Regions from separate parts of the Homo sapiens genome. Here all the other regions are linked to region 3. The links are contacts of gene promoters, found by promoter capture Hi-C in human tissues and cell types (Jung and others, 2019). All regions are on one chromosome and are shown on one strand. Each heading gives the region's core, a stretch centred on a gene start or on the middle of the fragment in contact. The rest is flanking DNA. Distances are from core to core; before and after follow the strand shown. Region 1 has its middle 89 kb from the start of JPH2. Region 2 overlaps LINC01620 (long intergenic non-protein coding RNA 1620). Region 3 holds the start of FITM2 (fat storage inducing transmembrane protein 2).

Region 1 (2,700 bases), core at 116-2,615, 210 kb after region 3:
AAGACAGGGTTTCACCATGTTGGCCAGGCTGGTCTCGAACTCCTGGCCTCAAGTGATCCGCCCACCTTGGCCTCCCAAAGTACTGGGGTTAAAGGCATGAGCCACCATGCCCAGCTGGTTTTTACTGTTTTAAATGGTTAGGGTGGGAAACAAAGGAAGACTAGTTCATGATGTGAAAAATCATGTAAAATTCACATTTCAGTGTTATGAATAAAGTTCTATTGGCCCACAGCTATGCTCATTTAATGATGTATTTTCAACCTTCATATTGACAGATTGAACTGAGGCAGGAGAATAGGGTTTGGACCAGGCAACTTAAGGCCAATGTGTGCTGACTTCCTAAGGCTGGATCAAAAGGGAAACACTTGGGTCTGGGGGCAGGGACTCTAAGACCAATTAACACCCACTTCCAAAAGCTAAGCCAAAAGGAAAAACTCCATCTTGCCATGCTGGGATAACAAAGAATCAAAGGTTACTCTCCATACAACCTTCCACCATGTCTCAGATGGAAAGGAAAGTGCCTTGGATTGGCTGTGGGCCAAGTGCTAGCCATCCCCCCATCTGCGTAGGGTGCCGATCCACTCCGTCTCCAGATGACTGCGGACCAATTCACTTCAGCTTTAATTAGCCATGGGCCAAATCCTTCATCCAGATAAAGAATGGACATCTTCAGCGGTGCCATTATTCTTCCTACCACACTCTCTTCCACAATCTTGATGGAGTAACTCCAACTCTAGAGCTAGCAGGAAAGTGAAGCTTAGAAGGTGTATTTGATTTTGTTTTTAATCAGCCCTATCCAGTGTAAGGTACATGTGTGAGGAACAAATTCATGCGTTCGAACTCAAGAATGGACTTAGAGACCCAGAGAATAGTGAAAGTGAGACTTTTAATGACGGTCTTGCAAGACTGGGTGTCTAATGAGCAGGCACACCCAGCGCAGTCACAACAAGCAATTCATCCTCTAGTGCACAGGTCTCTCCACCGGTTCCTCAAAGGCTGAGTACTGTGGGGTCACACTCTTCCCGGACTTTGCCTAGTGATGGTGGGTAGGGGCTTTAGGTGTTCTTTTTTAGGGTTGTCTTGTGGCATTTTGTTGCAGCCCACAATGTATTGCAATCCTAGTTAGCTCAGGGGCTTTTTAAGCATTTGTCTTATGACCTAATGACCTAAGTAGCTGGGCAGGCCGATAAGAACTGACAAAGTGAGCTATTTTGCAGGCTAGTAAACTTTCATTTTAGACTAAATGTCTTTGGTTTGAGTGAGGGCAACTAAGCAAGGGAGGAAGGGGAGAAGGGAGAGGCCGACAAGCAGGCATCGGCTATCCAAGCAGGGGCCTAGTATATCTTGTTTCTTCTGTAGTTTGCTGACCTAAGCCAATTCAAGGCACTTTATCTTGGAAATGGACCACTGTATACATTATTTCCTTCACATGGATGTGCTTTGGTCAAGGAATAGGCCGAGGCAGACATCCAGGCCTGCATGACTCAGCAGGGTTGGGGTGCAGGCTCACACCTCCACTTGTTATATAACTGTTTGTGTAAGTTCATACTTGGCTCTACGCCACTATTGTCTGTAAAAGGTATGACTGCCCTGCTGACACTGCACGGGGCTCTGGGGACATGGCTGGGCTTGGCTCTTGGGCATGGCTTGACGTGGTTGGGTGCGCTGGTGCCCAGAGGAAGAGAGAGCCAAAGCTGTCCGTCTTGCAGGTGGGCAGTGGGGAGCCCGGAACCAGCTTGTGCCCAGAGAAAGAGTTAAGCTGCTGACCCTGAAGGCAAGGGAGAGCCGGCAGCACAGCGGTGTATGGGAGCAGCCCACTCAAGCAGCTAAAACAGGGCGGACGGTGTGAGAAAACTACTGATGAGAGAAGAGTGTGTAAGAGCTGTTGATGAGAGAGCTGCTGAATAAAACTACATTTCACCTGCCTATGGCACCCGCCCAGTGTTTTTCACCTATCTGCCCATCCGCCCACTCCCCTTGGACCTCAGTATGGGCCCGAACCTGACCCCAAGCAGGACATTTGGCGTAGTTGTGGACCTGACATCCGGCTCCTGTCCTGTTCCCCAAATCTCCAGGATCCAAAGCCTAGATGATCCTTTATTTTCTATAAAGCAAGACATGAGTTTGGTACTCATTTTTGTAGCCGATAGGGCCCTCAAAAGGAGTCGTTAAAACCCAGAAAACTTCGTAACCAGGCCCGTGAGCTGCTTGCTTGGGCCCACTCCCACCTGTGGAGCGCTTTCCACTTTAATAAATCTCGCTTTCGGAGAATGGCGTGAGCCCAGGAGGCAGAGGTTGCAGTGAGCCAAGATCACACCACTGCACTCCAGCCTGGGCGACAGAGTGAGACTCTGTCTCAAAAATAAATAAATGAATAAAATAAAATATCATTCCCTGCTTTCACTGCTTTGTTGCTTTGTTTCATTCGTTTGTCACTTTGTGTGTTTTGTCCAATTCTTTGTTCAAAACACTGAGGACCCGGACAACTCACACTCAAGGCCCTCCATCTGGTAACAGAATAGTTGTGATAGATACCATGTGGCCCGCAAAGCCTAAAATATTTCCTTTCTGTCCCTTACAGAAAAGGTTTGCCAGTCCCTGGTATAGATAATTCAAAAGCATCCACTGAGCAGACTCCCTCAGGGAGCCCAGGAAGTCCTTGGTCTTAAGGCCTGGTGGAGACATGAGCTTTTGCCATCG
Region 2 (2,700 bases), core at 182-2,681, 150 kb before region 3:
CAGCCTAAATCAAATTCTTACTTATAGAAAGAAGCTTATAGACATGGCAATGTGCCTGGAATATCTTGTTTAGTGTGTATATGTGTGTATATATATATGTATAAATGTGTGTATACATATATGTATATATGTGTGTATACACACACACACACACACACACATATATATATACGTATATATACATATATATGTGTATATACATATATAAAATCAGGTCCTAAGACCATAAGCAGGTGTGGTATGTCTGCATGGAGCCCCGTCTGGGGATACACTGAACAACCCTTTAAATAGCACTTATTCTGTGTTGAGTGCTGTGCTAAGCACTCCACAAATGGTTAGCTTGTTTCATGCTCCTAACATTTAATACCCTATGTGTGACAGGTGCTGCCATTATACAGATTTGCAGGTAAAGAAATAGGCAGCAGAGAGGCTACACTCTAGCATGGTTAGGTTGCAAGCCAGCACGTGGCCCTGGGCACTTTGGTCTGAGTCTGTGCTCTTGACCACTTAGCTCTGCTACCTCTGCTAAGAGCATTTTTCTCTGGGTAGTAAAATTTCCACATTTTGAACTTTCTTATTTGTACTTCTCTTTATTGGTTGAGCTTTTGTGATAAGTAGGTTCCGTTTTCATTAAAAAAATTACTGGAGTTCTAATATGGGTTTTTGATGTCTTTAAGAATTAACTATGAATGCCTGCAGGGAAGGCTAGAATCCTAAGAGGGAGTCATTTTTCCAAAGGGACAAACCACTCCGGTCTCTTTTTGTGGCAATGAGACTACTGTCCTTGGTGTTGAGGACCCAGGGGCCAGCCCTGACTTTCTCCCACCCACTGTGATCCTGGGCAAGTCCCTGGTGTCCCTGTCACTACCTTCCAACAGCGAGGCACCTGGCATGGAGTGGCCCTTAATAAATATCCATTGGATAGAGGAAGAATGAACCACTGTCTCCTCTGGGCCTTGCTCCACCTCCACCACCACCAATATCTGCTCCCTGCCTATCCTTGGGGCCTTGAGAATTAACGAATGAATGAAGTCACTGTAAAGTGCTCATTATTTACAGGTTTTTATATTTATTTATTTTGAGACAGAGTCTCACTCTGTGGCCCAGGCTGGAGTGCAATGGCACGATCTTGGTTCACTGCAACCTCCGCCTCCCGGGTTCAAGTGATTCTCCTGCCTCAGCCTCCTGAGTAGCTGGGATTACAGGCACCCGCCACCATGCCCAGCTAATTTTTGTATTTTTAGTAGAGATGGGGTTTCACCATGTCGGCCAGGCTGGTCTTGAACCCTTGACCTCAAGCGATCCACCCACCTTGGCCTCCCAAAGTGCTGGGATTGCAGGTGTGAGCCACCACACCTGGCCTTGTTTGTAGGTTTTTAGAAAGGCAAACAGCAAGCAACATCAGACCCAACCAGATGGATAACTAATGGTGACCCCCCGAGGCTAGGGGAGTGTCCTTCCAAGCGTCCCTGAAACCAATGTGCAGGCTGCATCAGAGACAGGCCCAGGCCTTGCTGCTGGGAGTTTCCTGCCTGTGACCACCCCCACCTCGTGACCCGGCTCCTATCACCCCAGCCTCAGAAAGGCTGGGCCGCAGGGCCATAAATGCCTGCTATCATCAGTCCGTATCTCTAGAGCTGGGCTGTTTGCCAGGAGCCCTGCAATTATTTTTATTACATACAAGTCCTATAATTAATTTTTATCACTGTTTTCTCACAGCCACCTTGCAAGGAGGGCTAGTTTTGCTCTCTTTTGGTTTGGAGTTGGGGGAACTGGAACCCAGGCCTTGAAGGGGTTTCATGGAATTTCCTGGCTTTGCCCAAAGCTCTAGAAAGGGTTAGGGTTTGAATTCATAGACCGTGCTGGGGTCCGAGCAGAGAGTTGGCAGCAAGGTGGGGTGGGTGGTGGAGAATAGCCATTCAGAGTAGACAAAAGCCCTGAGGCTTGGCTGCTTCTTAGCTGTGTGACCTTAGGCAAGTCACTCAAACTCTCTGTGCCTTAGGTCCTTTTGTTTTGTTTTGTCTTGTTTTGTTTTTGAGACGGAGTTTCACTCTTGTTGCCCAGGCAGGAATGCAATGGTGCGATCTCGGCTCACCGCAAACTCTGCCTCCCGGGTTCAAGCGATTCTCCTGCCTCAGCTTCCTGAGTAGCTGGGATTATAGGCATGCACCACTATGCCCAGCTAATTTTGTATTTTTAGTAGAAATGGGGTTTCTCCATGTTTGTCAGGCTGGTCTCTAACTCCTGACCTCAGGTGATCTGCCCGCCTAGGCCTCCCAAAGTGCTGGGATTATAGGTGTGAGCTACCGCGCCCGGCTCCCCCCACCGTTTTTTGTTTTTTTTTATAAGATACATGGTCTTGATCTGTTGCCCAGGCTGAAGTGCAGTGGCCTGATCATAGCTCACTGCAGCCTTGAGCTCCTGGGCTCAAGTGTTCCTCTTGCCTCAACCTCCTGAGCAGCTAGGACTACAGGCAGGCATCACCGAGCCCAGCTAATTCGAAAAATCTTTTTTGGTAGAGATGGAGGTTTTACTATGTTGCCCAGGCTGGTCTTGAACTCCTGGCCACAAGCAATCCTCCTATCTCGGCCTCCCAAAATTCTGAGATTAATAGGCATGAACCACTGTTCCTGGCTGTGCCTTAGGAAGGAATAACAATACTCACCTCATCAGTTAGTACAGATGAGTGCTCAGTAACTG
Region 3 (2,700 bases), core at 22-2,521:
TGGGACCACAGGCCTGAGCCACCAAGTCAGCTAGTTTTTAAAATTATTTCTTATAGATACTGAGTCTCACTGTGTTGCCCAGGTGAAAATAAATTTAGAAATTTAAACTTTAAATGTAATAATTGCACCAGGTGAGATGGCTCACTCCTGTAATCTCAGCACTTTGGGAGGTGAAGGCTGGCAGATCACTTGAGGTTAAGATTTGGAGAGGTCAGATCACTTGAGGACAGGAGTTGGTCAGCCTGGCCGACATGGTGAAACCCCATCTCTACTAAAAATACAAAAATTAGCTGGGTGTGGTGGTGCGTGCCTGTAATCCCAGCTACTCGGGAGGCTGAGGCAGGAGAATCGCTTGAACCTGGGAGGCAGAGGCCTGCAGTGAGCTGAGATCGCGCCACTGCATTCCAGCCTGGGCAACAGAGCGAGACTATGTCTCTAAATAAATTAATTATATTAATTAATTAATTTAATAACTGCAGAGCGTGGTGGCTCACACTTGTAATTGCAGCATTTTAGGAAGCCGAGGCAGGAGGATCGCTTGAGCCCAGGAGTTTGAGACCAGCCTCGACAACGAAGCAAAACCCTGTCTCTACAGAAATAAAAATAAAAAAAATTAGCCAGGTGTGGTGGTGCCCGCCTGTGGTCCCAGCTACTCGGGAGGCTGAGGTGGGAGTATTGCTTGAGACCAGAAATTTGAGGTTGCGGTGAGCTGCGACGGTGCCATTGCACTCCAGCCTGGGCGACAGAGAGGGACCCCCCCCCAACTAACTAATAAATAAATAAATACAATAATTATTCCTAAGGAAACTTCATCTCATGTCCCTCTACGTGTGCCAACGTAATGAACCCCTGAGCTCATAAACTAGCTTTTGGGAAAGGTTGATCTCCTCTTGTCTCTCGCATTTTACAGATGAGAAAACTAAGACTCAGATGGCAGAGGTGTCTCCGAGGCTCCAAGAAAGATCAAATGATGCTGTGACTACTGCTCCAATTCTCCAGGGCTACATTTATCCTCTTCCAGCCTCCAGCAAATACTTTCACAAGCGCTTTTTCCCAGACCAGAGCAAGACGCGGAGGCTCGGGGAGAGGAGGCGGCCAGGAGAGCGCAGAGGAGACGAGCGAGTTCGGGGACCGTCACGCGCCAGAGGCAGCAGCGGCCACGAGGGGGAGCGCGCGGGCTCCGGAGCCCAAGCACGCCTCAAGCTGTGGGACTCGCGGGCAGTGCGCATGCGCTCGAAGGGAGGTGGAGGCGCAGGTCCGGGCGAAGGGCGATACGGTGGCCGAGAGGGCACGGAGAGGAGGACGGTGGCTGACGAGATCCGGCATGGAGCATCTGGAGCGCTGCGAGTGGTTGTTGCGGGGGACGCTGGTGCGGGCGGCCGTGCGGCGCTACCTGCCCTGGGCCCTGGTGGCCTCCATGCTGGCGGGCTCCCTCCTCAAGGAGTTGTCCCCGTTGCCCGAGAGCTACCTCAGCAACAAGCGCAACGTCCTCAACGTGTGAGTGCACCCCGGTCCTCCGCTGTCCCCGCCCGAGCCGGCCCGCTGTCGCCTCGCCCAGAGAAGCCGGTGCTAGCTGCCGTGGTGGACGAGTCATTGGAGGGGAGGTCCTCCTCCTAGCCGTGACAGCAGCATCTGCACGCGTGTCACGCCTGGGAGGCCCCGGGGTAGCTGGTGTCACTAGCAGTTAGTGTTTGCAGACCCACTTTGGGCAGCATGAGCTTGACTGGGCAGGTGGTGACAAGCGGGGTCGTGTGTGTCTCTGTATATGTAGGGGTGTGGAATGGGGTGGGGATGAACCAGCCCCTGTCACCACTCCCCCGCCTCCCCTTGGAGTTAGGAGCTGACCCCTGCCCTGTTTGGGAGATGCCATCTCACCTCTGTCCTGCCTGCCTGTGGCAGACCCCGCGCAGACCCCACCCTGCGTCAGATCAGATCCCTCCAGCGCGTGACAGAATCCCTTTACGACCTGTGGAAGAGCCTCGCCCCAGCCTGTGACAGGCAGAGCCCCCGCCTGTGAGATACTCACAGAGGGCTGGAACCCCCTAGTCTGTGCCCTTTCCCCTGGATCTCCTTGGATCATCTCAGCCACTCAGAATGCATGGCAGTGGCCCAGAAAAGCAATCCCAGCTGGGCGCTTTGAGACATCTCCTTAACTCCACCCATCCACTCCTTTGCTTGCTTACTTGCTTTTTTCAAAACTCCCGGTTAGTAAGTTTATTGCACAAAAACTCTGTTGCGGTCATAAAGGGAAACTCTGAAAGATAAAACTGCTCCCTTGATGTGAGCCTAAGTGTTTTCCAGAATAAGTGTCTCTGGCGTGTCCTGAAAGTCAGCCCAACTTTGGTTATCTGCTTAAAACCCTGGTTCCTTTCACAGGCAGCTTCCTCAAATGCCTGACGGGTCTTGGCTCTGGCAAGATCTTCCTTATCAGTCCCAGTGAAGATTTTAGTGACAGGCCTGGGGGTGGTGCCTGAGAATCCATTGGAACCTAGAAAAAAGTCCTTCTGTCCTTGGTCCACCTTCCTTCCTCACCCACCCTGAGAGGCTGGGCTAAGAATAGATCATGAGAGTGGTAGTGGCCCCAAGTCTCTGTCCTGGGTTTAGGTCAGCCACCTTTCGTGAACGCTGGGGAGGCGGACAAGGCAGCTGCTGCTTCCTCTGGCCTAGGTGAGCTGGGAGCCAAGTGGCCTGGCTGACAAC

The links. The method cuts DNA at HindIII sites, captures the fragments that hold promoters and counts their contacts. A contact is called where the count stands out against the background at its distance.
Region 1: a contact is called between a fragment that was not itself captured here and the fragment with the promoter of FITM2 in region 3, in 1 of the 25 tissues and cell types used here (aorta).
Region 2: a contact is called between a fragment that was not itself captured here and the fragment with the promoter of FITM2 in region 3, in 4 of the 25 tissues and cell types used here (dorsolateral prefrontal cortex, liver, mesendoderm cells and 1 more).

The regions. Positions count from the first base shown.
Region 1 is chr20:44,096,708-44,099,407 of GRCh38, reverse strand. No RefSeq gene overlaps it. Among named protein-coding and RNA genes, the nearest start is that of JPH2, 89 kb to the left of the region's middle. The HindIII fragment of the contact is 5,022 bases long and covers 1-2,700 here.
Region 2 is chr20:44,456,076-44,458,775 of GRCh38, reverse strand. The region is part of intron 2 of LINC01620 (long intergenic non-protein coding RNA 1620); the gene reads left to right. Among named protein-coding and RNA genes, the nearest start is that of LINC01430, 6.9 kb to the right of the region's middle. The HindIII fragment of the contact is 8,304 bases long and covers 1-2,700 here.
Region 3 is chr20:44,309,773-44,312,472 of GRCh38, reverse strand. FITM2 (fat storage inducing transmembrane protein 2) reads left to right here and starts at 1,271. Exons shown (of 2, transcript NM_001080472.4): 1 at 1,271-1,497. The coding sequence starts at 1,325. RefSeq lists enhancers at 1,219-1,368, 965-1,694, 1,659-1,748, 1,695-2,424. The HindIII fragment of the contact is 18,619 bases long and covers 1-2,700 here.